Regions from separate parts of the Homo sapiens genome. Here region 1 is linked to region 2. The links are contacts of gene promoters, found by promoter capture Hi-C in blood cells and fetal thymus (Javierre and others, 2016). All regions are on one chromosome and are shown on one strand. Each heading gives the region's core, a stretch centred on a gene start or on the middle of the fragment in contact. The rest is flanking DNA. Distances are from core to core; before and after follow the strand shown. Region 1 holds the start of WDR75 (WD repeat domain 75). Region 2 holds the start of NEMP2 (nuclear envelope integral membrane protein 2).

Region 1 (6,370 bases), core at 402-2,901, 1.1 Mb before region 2:
AAGTCACACTAATTTGAGTGAAAATATTTATTTTGTTTCTTGGCTCAGGCCCTAAGGAAAAGCCTGTATCAGGTTACAAAGTACCCAACAAAGTCTTTAAAAGATTTATTGTGCATACATCAAGAGACTAAACAAAAAGAGGTTAAGGCTGCAGAATCAAAAGTGATATTTTACACTCCATCCACTGTGACAAAGGGTATCACAGTCATGAAAGAGAAAGCTGGTTACAGCTTGAGATAAACCAAAATTATTAAATATCTCCCTTTCTAGTTCTGGCTCCCCAAATAATAAAGTTTTGAGCACTTTAATAAGCTAGACTCCTCAGTAAAAAGTAAATTTATCCCTGATTTTTACAGTGGTGCTGTCCCAGGATATGTCTTGACCTTTGTGAATATTGTATTTCTCCACCATAAATAAACTTATAGGTATAATCATGTGTGGCTTAATGATGGGGATATGTTCTAAGAAATGCATTTTAGGTGATTTCATCATTGTGTGAATATCACAGAGTGTACCTACACAAACCTAGATGGTACAGCCTACTACACACCTAGGCTGTACGTTATAGCTGATTGCTCCTAGGCTACAAATCTGAACAACATGTTACTGTACTCAATATTGCAGGCAATTGTAACAGAATAGTATTTGTGTATTTAAACACATAAAAGGTACAGTAAAAACACAGTATTATAATCTTACGGAATCACCATGTTATATGCATTGATTGAAAGATCCTTATGTGACATGTGACTATATTTGAGACCTTGGTAATTTTGTGGTAAATCCACAAATCAAGAAGCGAAATCAAAATAGGCAACATAATATACAGGGTCCAAGAATATGATACGTGTAAGTTTACAAAGGAAAACTGGAGATAAACTGGCAAAAATAAACATGTTGAGATTTTAGGGGTTCCTAACCCACAGATTCTATTCACTAATGGGAAAAGGTAAAACTCAGGAAACCAGAGACCAGCGCCCTGAAACCTGGCGGGACTGGCCGAATGTCAGATTAGCCCGAGCAGCTACACTGAACGCTGCGGAAGATGCACCAGAATCCCGGAGTAGGAGCCAGATTTCCAAAGGAAGAAAGCTAGGCCCTAGGACTGTGGAGATTCTGTAGTAACCTAAGCGATGTTCACAAGAACAGAAGAACGGCTAATGAGAGGAACAAAAAGCTGTACAAGGAAGAGAAAGCTACCTTTCCACCCAATAACTCAACGCTGCGACCGAGAAAACCAGGGACGCGAGAGGCTCGCGTCATCCTGCAGCGCCGACACCACAGACACTAGAAAGCGACGCCTCCGGTGGGACGACTGGAGGTCACGTGGTACACTATACGCCACCTTTCCCTTCTGGCGGAAAAAGCCATAGAGTCAGGTTGACAAGGCCTGAGAGAAATATGTCTGTATTAAATAATTGTGTATAGGTATATAATAAAAACTGATTGTCTCTAAATCTCTGTTTTGCTTTCACCTTTTCTTACAAGTGTCTTAGTTTGACATTGCCCACACAAAAGGTGCCTGCACGGAAGCGGAGTCCTACCACCGAGTCTCAGGCCTAGAAGGGCCCGGGGGTGGGTTCTGTGGGCTGGGAACAGCCTTATTACCCGGCTCAACGAAGGAAGTTCAGGGCGGGACCAGAGATTGGCCATTCCGCTACTGCGCAAAGATGGTGGAGGAGGAGAACATCCGCGTGGTTCGTTGTGGCGGCAGCGAGTTGAACTTTAGGAGAGCTGTGTTCTCTGCAGATTCTAAGTATGAGGGGCACCGCGCTTTGTCGGCTGAGGGGCGGGGCGTGAGTTTCTCGAGGGTCGGGGAGAAGGAATTGTCAGTCGCGTTCGGACTCGCCCGCCTGGCGGATATCGGCTTTGGGTAGAGCACGCGCCTGTGGGGGATCCCCAGGGTACCTGGGAGGTCCCGTTACCACTGCAGATTGGGTTGCGTCCCCCGATTCCTGGACAGTTTACCTGCAGGTAGATAAAGGCCCTGGAGCCGGTCTCCGTGTCGAGGATCTGGAAGGTGTTCGGGCGGCTGGAAAATGGTCCAGGGGTGGATGTGTATGCCACTACCTTTGCAGTACCTACTCTTTCGTACAGAATCATGTTTTGGAGTGACTAAAACCTAAAACTATTCCGCTTTTTCTACCCACTCCTCACTCCTGAAGCATAGTGCATGAAGCATAGTGCAGTCTTTTCGGAACTTTACATGAAAACAGATGTTAGATTCTTTATGAGATAAAAATACGCTAAGACTTGGTCTCTTTTCTCAGTGTAGCTGGAAACCAAACCACTCCCTGGCTTCAAAATCCACTTCTTACATTATGAAACCTTTGTAAGTTTCTTAATCTTTGCCTCAGTTGCCATCATCTGTAAAGGGGGACAATATTTAGTTCATCTCACGTGGTTATTGGGAGGATTAAATGCCTCAATATGTTAAAACTACAGACAACAATGCCCGGCACATAATGGCTCAATGTATGTAGCTGTAATCATTATTACTGTATTGTCAGGTTTTCAAATAACTTTAGGTAGGGTGGCACTTAATAAAATCAAAAAACCCTTTCTGCCTTAGAAGAGTAGAGATAGTATTTTATGAAAGTTTGTAGCCTCCACAATATTCTTTTTTTTTTTTTTTTTTTTTTTTTTGATGCAGAATCTCACTCTGTCACCCAGGCTGGAGTGCAGTGGCTCAATCTAGGCTCATTGCAACCTCCGCCTCCCTGGTTCAAGCAATTCTGGTGCCTCGGCCTCCTGAGTAGCAAGTATTATAAGCGCGGGCCACCACGCCCGCTAATTTTTGTATTTTTAGTAGAGAGAGGGTTTCGCCATGTTGGCCAGGCTGCCCTGGAACTCCTGGCCTCAAGTGATCTGCCCACCTGAACCTCCCAAAGTGCAGCGATTACAGTGAGCAACTGTGCCCGGCCCACCCCCACAATATTCTGCATATGAGTGTACGACAGGTAGTTGTTGAAGGTAATGCAAGCATGACTGAAAGAGCTTTTATAAATTGCCTTAGAAGCCAAAAAAAAATGAGTCCTGTGGCTTTGTTGACATTGATCTTATGAATCAAAGGAAGAAACAGGCTTTAAGAGGCTGTCACACTGTGACGCTTCGGACTCATATCCATGTAACCAGTACTGTTCTTATACCTTATTCATTATAATGAGGTCCATTGTGTGTTTGATTTGCTAAGCCCAACAATTCATTTTTTAAGTACTTGTCAACTATATATTATGTATAACATGCTGCAGTGACAAAAACTAAGATAATTTTAATATTGATCCTGCCTTCGAGGAGCTTACAGTCTAGTGAGGAAAAGGAATACTCAGTAACAGATTTTTCTTACTGTGGTCCTGTAGGAAGGAGCTCATAAGAAGAGATTACTTCCCAAACTAAGAAGGACGGAGAAGATTGCTGAGCAAATGACATTTGTGCTAGGCCTAGATGATATTTTAAGTGGGGAATATGGACAGAAGACATTTCAGGTGGGGAGGACAGTGTAAGCAAGAAAGACAGAAGTGATTTCTGTTGAACAGGCTGGTACAGTTAGCTAGTAAGAATGGTATATATTAAGGGAGGTAGTGGGAAATGAGGTTGGAAAGGACACGTGCAGCCAGTTGTTGGTTGTTGTTTGGACCAAAGAGAATGGTTTTTTAATTCTTTAAGGGGACGGCGGTAATCAGTTGTAATTTGATTGTGTTTCTTCAATAATGTTAACCTGAAAACTGTAAAACTCTATGATACATGTTGGTGAGTGGAGAAATGAGAGCTGGGTAGGCTGATGTACATAAAGTACAGTGATGGCATAGAAGAGGGAGTTACATAGTCAGTTTTACCTTCAGTAGTGGTTCTTGCAGCAATGGCAAGAGTTTGCCTCACCAGTAATACTGGGGGATGGAATGCCAGGCAAACAAGCTTGAAATCTGGGGGCCTTGAAAACTGGGGGGATTGAGCCTTCTATGTAAAGTCAGTGTAATTGCAGCATAGGGTATAAGAGATGGCAGGAAAAGACTCTGGAAGAATAGAGACCAGGGGTTAGAAGACCAGTGCAGGCATCCAAGCAAGAAATCACTTTTGCCCAAACTAAGGTAATATTGAACATGGAGAAAAGAGACAGGGTTTTAGAGTGATTTCACAGTCAGTGTCAATGGGGAGATAGAGTTCAGTTCGGGGTTATTAACTCTAAGGTACCTGTAAAACAACCAGGTGGATATAGCTAGTAGTAGGTAGAAATTCAGGACTGAAGTTTGGAGAACTTGGTCAAGATTTAGAGATTTTTTTTTTGTCATCTATATATAAGCTAATAATTAAAACCATTTATCTAACAAATGACAGGATTTTAATGAACTCAGCAAAGATTTGAATATTATCTACAAGGTACCACAAGGGATTGGCTGCCTTATACAAAGAGGAATAATTTTGTATTTTACCTCAAGGTGCTTATCAAGAAAGCCAAAATCATAAAAAGACAGACTTGTGGAATTTTGGCGGCTTCCTCTTGAAACTAGAACAAAAACTCTGTTCTAGGTACTTGAGTAGGTTGTTCTGAGGGGCATGTGGGTATACATGTAAGTTCCTGGTGTTCCCATATTAGATATTACTGACTCTCAGTCCAGTTCTGTTTGCATCCCATTCTGCGGCATCCCACAGTTATATGGTGCTGTGAATTATTGCACTGGGGTTGTTAGGGTAGAGAAAACTGAAACAATGAGTCATCCTTGCCTTTCACTTTCCTAAATTGCCCACAAGCTAATGTCCCAAACTCAGTATTTTTCCCTTACAGATCATTCTGAGTATTGCTGCTGTAACAATTTTCCTAAGTTGTTACTGTTATAACATTATTACTCTAACTCTTATTTCTAGTCTTGCTCTGAACTTTTTAACAGTTTTTTGTTGCCTCCTTAACTATAGCTCCTCTATATGGCTTTCAATCCCTTCTCTGATATAGCTCAACTCTTCCTACCCAACTGTTTCCTGATACTACCCATTATAGACACTTTGCTTGTCAGATAAGTACATTATCTGTGTCTTGTATATAATCATACCATTTCCTTGCTCTTGCTTATGTTGCTATTTTTTCTTCCCACCCCTTAAATCATACATCCTTCAGAGTCTAGTTTAAATCTTGGTTCCGACTTGAAACATCCCTAATTTCTTACTTCTTCACTTTCTCAACAAAGATGAATCCTATGTGACAGGTGTTGTGGTGGGTGCATTACACACCTTCCAGTCTACAAGGTTAAGGTATTATCCCTATTGAGTGAGTGCTTGCTGTGTATGCTAAGCTTGTATTTGCATGCAATGTTTCACTTAAACTCTATGAGAACGTGTTATTTACATTTTACAGTGGCTAACTGTAAGTGGAGATGTGAAGTTTAAAGAGGTTAAGTAAATTCTCCAACATCATTCAGCTAATACATAATAAAGCTGACATTCGAATCCATTTGTGTTTGACTTATTATTGTTTCTAATAAGTGAAAACACAGTGTCTCACCTCAAAGACTCACAGTCTGGTAGAGGAGAAACATAGTACACAGACAGTCTTAATGCCTTGTGGTAAGTTCTGTGATGGAGCTAAGCCCACCGTCGTGTAGAAGCACATTAGGACGGGTGCTGATCTAGAATGAGAAGATGAGGAAGGGCTTCCGGGAGAAAATTCTGAGCTGAATCTTAAAGCAGTAGTCAAGAGTTCTGAGAAATGGGAAAGACTGAAAAACTGTCACTGATTGGAAGGTTCTGAGAAGATATGACAACTAAGGTGGTATGCTGGACTGGGGTCTAGGAACATAAAAAAGACATTAATGGAAAAAGTGAAGAGCTCCAAATAAATTATGTAGTCAATAGTCATGTACCAGTGTTAATATCTTAGTTTTGACTAACATGCTGTGCTTATGTAAAGTGCTAACATTTGTGGAAGCTAGGTGAAGCGTATGCAGGAACTCTGTAATTCTTCTGTAAATCTAAAATTATTTCAAAATTAAAAGTTAAAAAATAAGCTTACTCTTAGGAAATAAAAAAGAAGTAATTAGAAAACGTGTTCTATGTAGATAGCAGAGAGTGCAAAACCATGGAGAGAAAGTTGACTTTGAAGGGTTGCGTTTAAGTAATTGAAGCCATTGTTCTATGCTGAGAAACAAGAAGAGAGGATATTCCTTTTTTCTGAGGAAGCTTATCAGAATCAATTAGGGAAAGTTTTCTTGGCCAACAGTAGCCCCCTACCCACCACTGTCTCAAGGAAGCCATATCTAAAGGACCTCTTCATATTGATAGGGTGTGTCTGGGGGATGGGGGAAATTGTTGGAGTTATGAACTATTTTAATAGAGCACAGTGTTAAGTGAAAAAGTAGTTCAAGTTAGACTGGGATCAGAC
Region 2 (5,486 bases), core at 2,526-5,025:
TAAGGCCAGGAATTTGAGACCAGCCTGGGCAATATGGTGAAACCCTGTCTTTACCAAAAATAAAAAATTGGCCAGGATCATAATTCAGTCTCAAAAATAAATAAACATTTAAAAATTAGAACAAAAACAACAACAATCCCCTTACAATGCAATCCAGGAAATGAAACAGAATTTCTAGGAATTTTTAAAAATCTAACAATAATCATTCATTTGGTCAAAAGGGAACAATACCTGCCTAGGGAAAGCTACTGCTTCTACTTGAGGCTGAGGTATTTAATATGTCCGTACCCTGGAAGGTGCTCCATAACCTAGGTAATCACTTCCTCAAGCCTGAATCAGATCGGGAGAAAGATCTGGAAGTGTAGGCTATCCCAGGTTTGCCTCAACCCTCAAGGACTGAGGAGTATCTGTGGGATCAACCCTGAATGCCATCCTTACTATGGAAAGACAGGTTTCTAAGCCTGGAAGGGCATCATTTTCCTTAACTTCTTGCAATCCTCAGCAGGCTCTTTGATGCTTTCAATTAACCTGACTTCTAGAGAACAGTATATTTCTGGATAGTTGTGCCCAAATTTCTAAGATGTTACAGGAGGCATTAATTATTTACATTACCAAAGGATTCAGAAAGTCAGGGTTCCCTTAACCAATGAGATAGATTCCTTAGTTCATTTTAAATACCACTCAATTTATGAATATTCAATTAATCTAATTTTAGAATTACATATCTAGTATAAAAAAGGGACAGCTACATATCACCTAATTATAAGCTCAATTATCTCCTTTGTAGTACTTTTGTCATTTATTAGTTTTCCTAAATGTAAGTATATGTTTAAGTTAAAGAGTTGAGTCATATATACGGAAAAAAAAACCTCAGTCAAAACATCAGAAAAGAGCAGGCAGTACTTAAACCTACTTACAGAATATGCTAAAAATAAAAAGCACAAACACCTCAAATCTTAGCAGAACCTAACTCCCAACACAAAAATATCTCACCAATGTTCCTCCTGAAAACTGACATGGCCCTCATATGGGGAAAAAAAATATCTTCAGATGAAACTAGAATGGAATCATAATATAAACACTTATTAACTTATATGACAAATTTCCCCATTTTCCCTATAACTGTTTTTCTTTGGGGACAAGGAAGGGGAGGGAGAAGAGTAGGAAACACAAAAAGCAAAAAACCAACAAGTCTTAACTTGTGAGAAGTCAAATGGACTCAGGATTTTTCTTACTATTTGTTTTTTGTAAATACACATTTTCAAAGGTGTTAACGTGAGGCACCAAAGTGATAAAGGTAACTATTCTCTTAACCTCAGTTTTTTTTAACCTGAATATTCATCTTTTTCTTTCTCCAAGAATATGAGAATGAAACTGGAATTAGTATATACTCATGCACACTCAGGTCTTTAACTTCAAGTTCAAATCTTCACAGATGAATCTTAAAGCTGTGGTGTCAAATGGACTGTTATAGTTTAAGCCTGGAAAGCCACTGACAGGGCCTGAACTTCATCTCAGGACAACACATGGTTTCTAGGGACCTCACTAACTGGGTGAAAATTATGGGAAACTCTTGAAGTTTCTCCTCTCAGTCAGACAACTACCTGCTCCTCCTGTGTCAACTGTCTCTGACTTTCCTCCAAATAGAGTGACAGAAAGCTGGGGTTGGTCTGAATGTTCTCCATTCCATTGAAGTGTGTGTTATTCAAGACAAAATTTTAGAACAGGAAGGCACCTTAGGTATCACTAATCCAAGCCCCTCGCTTAAAGGAAGTACCAGCTGTTTCCTCTCAGGGTCCTCAAGAAACCATAGACTTTTAAAGAGCAGCTATGGTTCTTAAGCCTAGTCTAATCCAGGGCTGCCAACAGTGTCACTGGCACACTACCAGATGCTGGGCGCTTCACAGTCCGTATTGGAAAGCCTACCGGAATGGCAGGCATCCCTCTAAGGCTACAAAAGTTGCCATTCTTCTTAGCTGTGGACTAGTTTTATCAAGTCAGTGGGCATCCTGCATGTCTCAGGCAGAACAGAAGCTCCAATAAGTATTTATGTGTGTCTTTGATTAACAAAGCAGAGAAGCAGGCTGTTACTATTATACTAAATGCGGTAACATAAAAACTTTAAAAACACCAGGTTCACTGAGGTGAGGAAAATACTGGAAACTCTTCAGTAAAAACATCTTCATTTTACTCAAGAGAAAACTACGGTCCATAAAGACTCTGTGCCTGGACCAAGGTTATACCACAAGTTGTGGCTGAAGGAATGAGTGGTCTAGAACCCAAGGTGCTGGGTGCTGGTCTAAGGCTACTTCTAATTTTCTCGCTGTTGCCATGCCCAGAAACCTTCCTGCTTAGACAGATTTGTGTTTTATTTTTTCACCAGCATAAAATTGTTGTATTTCTTACTACCAAACCTTCGTTTTCTCATCTGTAAAATGGGTATAAAATGGTGCTTTCCCGCATAGGGCTTCTATGGGTATTAAATATGATAGATACTGCAGTTAAAGCACTTATAACACTGCCTAGCACATACTGAACACTCAAAAAATTTCTCTTCAATGAAAACTGGAATCCAACACTTCCCCAACATATAACTCACTGCAAGATTCCCTCAGTTGGGAGCTGTGGCAGAATCTGATAATGACCTCATCAACATCCAGTCTCTCATTCATCCTTAGATAAAAAACCGCGGTATAACCGGAGGGAGGGCCATGCCCAGCTAAAAGAATACACTTGGCAGCCTCCCTTGAAACCAGGGTAGCCAAAGCAAGGAAGGGAAGTTGGTAGACAGTGCACCCAGGAAATCTTTTAAAAGATTTTATGAGGGGAAAAAAAAAAAGAAACAGAAATGTGAAGCTCATGGTAAGTTAGCGGCAGGTCTGGAGTTGGAACTCTAGGTTTCTGACTTCCCCAGGTGTCCTTCCCAGATCCTTCCCCAGTGTGCCAGCATCTTAAGCCCACTCCGTGGCGAGCCCCTACAGCTAGCAGCCGCTACCAGTTCTTGCTTCCTGTGTGCCAGGCATTGTGCACACGAACACCACAAGAACCTTGTGAGGCCTCATTACCTGCCGCTCACGTGGGACCGTTATGTTTACTCGCTCAAGGTCACAACAGTCAGGGGCAGAAGAATTTTCGCTCCGATTCTGAAGCTGAAGCTGTTACCTTCTCTAGTCTTGAGACCAAAGGAATGCGAGATAGTGAAATAACAAGGATTTCAACACGCATTGATGTACTGTACAAAAGGCCGTGTGCTGAAAGTCTGGAGACTAGGGTCAGCTGTGCCAGTGACAAGCTGTGTGACCCTGGGCAAATCAAAACCTCTCTGAGTTTCGGTTGCTTCTGTAAAACGAGGGAATTGGGCGACTGGATCGCGCGGTTGCTTCTAATTCTAAAATTACAAAATGTCCAACTGCCAGGCGAGAGACTACGGAAGCCCAGTAAGACAGGAAGGGCGGGCGGGGCCTGCCCGGGAGACCCCAAAGCGAGAAAAGGGAGCGCCCGCCCCAGTGGGCCTCGCGGTGCCGCCCGGGCCAAAGAGCGCGCCCTCAGGGCAGCCGCGAAGCCGGGGAGCGAGCACGCACGCGCGCGCCGCCGCCGCCGGTCCCGGGTTACCTGATAACGCTGCCGCCGCCGCCTCCCCGCGCACGGGCAGTGTGGCCAGGGGCGGCAGCCAGAGCAGCAGCCACCACCGCCCTTGGCGCGGCCCCATTTCGTTAGGGGTCAGCTCCGTGCGACCCGAGCCCTAGGGGACCGGCTCCGCTGCGAGGAGCGGAAGTGGCGCGGGGGCTCAGAGAAGGCGGAGGGGGCGGTGAGGCCCGAACGCGGGAAAGGCGGAGACCCCGCCTCCCCGGGGCGGAGGGAGAGTTGGGCTCGTTGCTCCAGCCTCCGCCCGCGGCCTCGGGGCACGGCGGGCCCAGGCCGGAGGAGCTTTCGGTGGCGCGACCCCGCTGGCATGCTCCCGGCCTCGGCCTCGGCCTCGGCCTTGGCCTCCGGGCCTCCAGCGCACGCGGGGCGTCCAGGGCCTCATCTTCCCCTGGGGACCGCCCGGCCGTGTCCCGCTGCCCTCGGCGCAGGGGTGGGAGTTGCAGAGAGGAAGAGTCGCTAACCCGGAGTGTTTCTTAAAACTTGGCTGACCTGTGACCTGCGGATTTGGAGGCTGAATTCTCCGAGCACCTGTGAGTGACAGCCCGTGAATGGGAAGGTCCTTCGGCAAACGCCCTTTTTGTGAATAAAATACATAAAAGCCAGTTTCTTTATTTTACCTTTCTGTTTATCTTTTTACTTTCATTTGGTAACAAGCAATAACAAATTGGAAATTTGGCCGCTTAAGTAACACTGACTTGTATGTCTAATCTCGGACACGGCATTTCAGAGTACAGAGGGGCTCGTAAAATGTTCCTTCACCAACATGACAAGGTTCTCTTAAAATTACCTTATGTTAAAAAAAAGTTTCTTAATGTAATAGATATATTTTTAAATTAACATATAACCTGAATGATCTTAATACTGATAATTAGGAGATATACATATATTTTAAAGAACATTCCCTCCACAGGACCTGGAACCCATTAATTTGACTCAATATTCCATACTTAACTAGGACAGTCTTCTCTAATTCTGGTCTTTTGGTGAGATATCTTAGAGAACCCAAAGTAACAGAAATTATCCTGTTAAAAATAGATAAGCCTCATTTTTCCTAAAAGTCTGAGTAGGATGGACTAGGCTTTCCTTGCCCTCAAAGAAAGGTTTAACCAACTGCCCTTAAGCACTTGGCACCATGTGTACACCATGTATGGCTTTTAAAAAGTTAAGAAATTTCCTTGTAAGGGACTCTTCAGAGGGATGGTTTTTAAAAATAAACCATCATTACTTGAGTGAAGCCTGTCTTCAGAGAAACAGCAGAGCCCTGATCCAATTCTTTCCTGTATTCCCAGGTGCGGTGTGCACTTGCTTCTTGCAAGACAGCTTTTGTACCTAACCACATTCATTTTGATTTGGTTTAATTTTGGATGGCACTATGGAAAGTAGCTAAAATAAACAGGTGGGTTGTTGAATGATGAATGTATTTTCTACAGATATATCTGGTGGAGAAACAAAAGGGCAGGCAGCAATGTACTAAATATTTAAAGTGCTATTTATATCACAGATCCTTAGTAAATATCTGTAAAGAAGCTATATTGAAACACCACATTTTTCTCTATAAGCAATAAATATTTTTCCGGAGATAACAAGAATGTTAGGAGGTGATAGTTCTGTCACTGGGGGACAATCATGAAATTCCACTTAACCTCTCCAAACTTTTCTTCTGTATGAAAACCTTATCCACTGGGGGAAGGGCAGGAAGCTTTACCACCAACAGGATCCTGGCAAAGACCCCCTGCTTCTGGAGAAGAGATAGAAGCACAAACCTTCTGCCCTTTGGGGAGCAGCAGGAGCAGGAAACACTAGGGCTCTGTGTCCTGAACCAATAGAAAATTGAAGTTGGC

The links. Contacts are between HindIII fragments. The CHiCAGO score rates a contact against its expected background, and 5 or more counts as called.
Region 1: the fragment with the promoter of WDR75 here is called in contact with the fragment with the promoter of NEMP2 in region 2 in 6 of 17 cell types (naive B cells, total B cells, fetal thymus and 3 more); the score reaches 9.0 in naive B cells.

Annotation. Positions count from the first base shown.
Region 1 is chr2:189,439,823-189,446,192 of GRCh38, forward strand. It overlaps WDR75 (WD repeat domain 75), which reads left to right and starts at 1,652. Exons shown (of 21, transcript NM_032168.3): 1 at 1,652-1,756. The coding sequence starts at 1,671. It also overlaps a transcript of COL5A2 not described here. RefSeq lists enhancers at 518-1,216, 988-1,147, 1,168-1,387, 1,648-1,777, 1,798-2,027 and 1 more. The HindIII fragment of the contact is 5,353 bases long and covers 1-3,913 here.
Region 2 is chr2:190,530,947-190,536,432 of GRCh38, forward strand. It overlaps NEMP2 (nuclear envelope integral membrane protein 2), which reads right to left and starts at 3,776. Exons shown (of 9, transcript NM_001142645.2): 1 at 3,613-3,776. The coding sequence starts at 3,709. NEMP2-DT (NEMP2 divergent transcript) reads left to right here and starts at 3,892. Exons shown (of 5, transcript NR_183903.1): 1 at 3,892-4,175. RefSeq lists a silencer at 3,440-4,089. The HindIII fragment of the contact is 6,238 bases long and covers 1-5,342 here.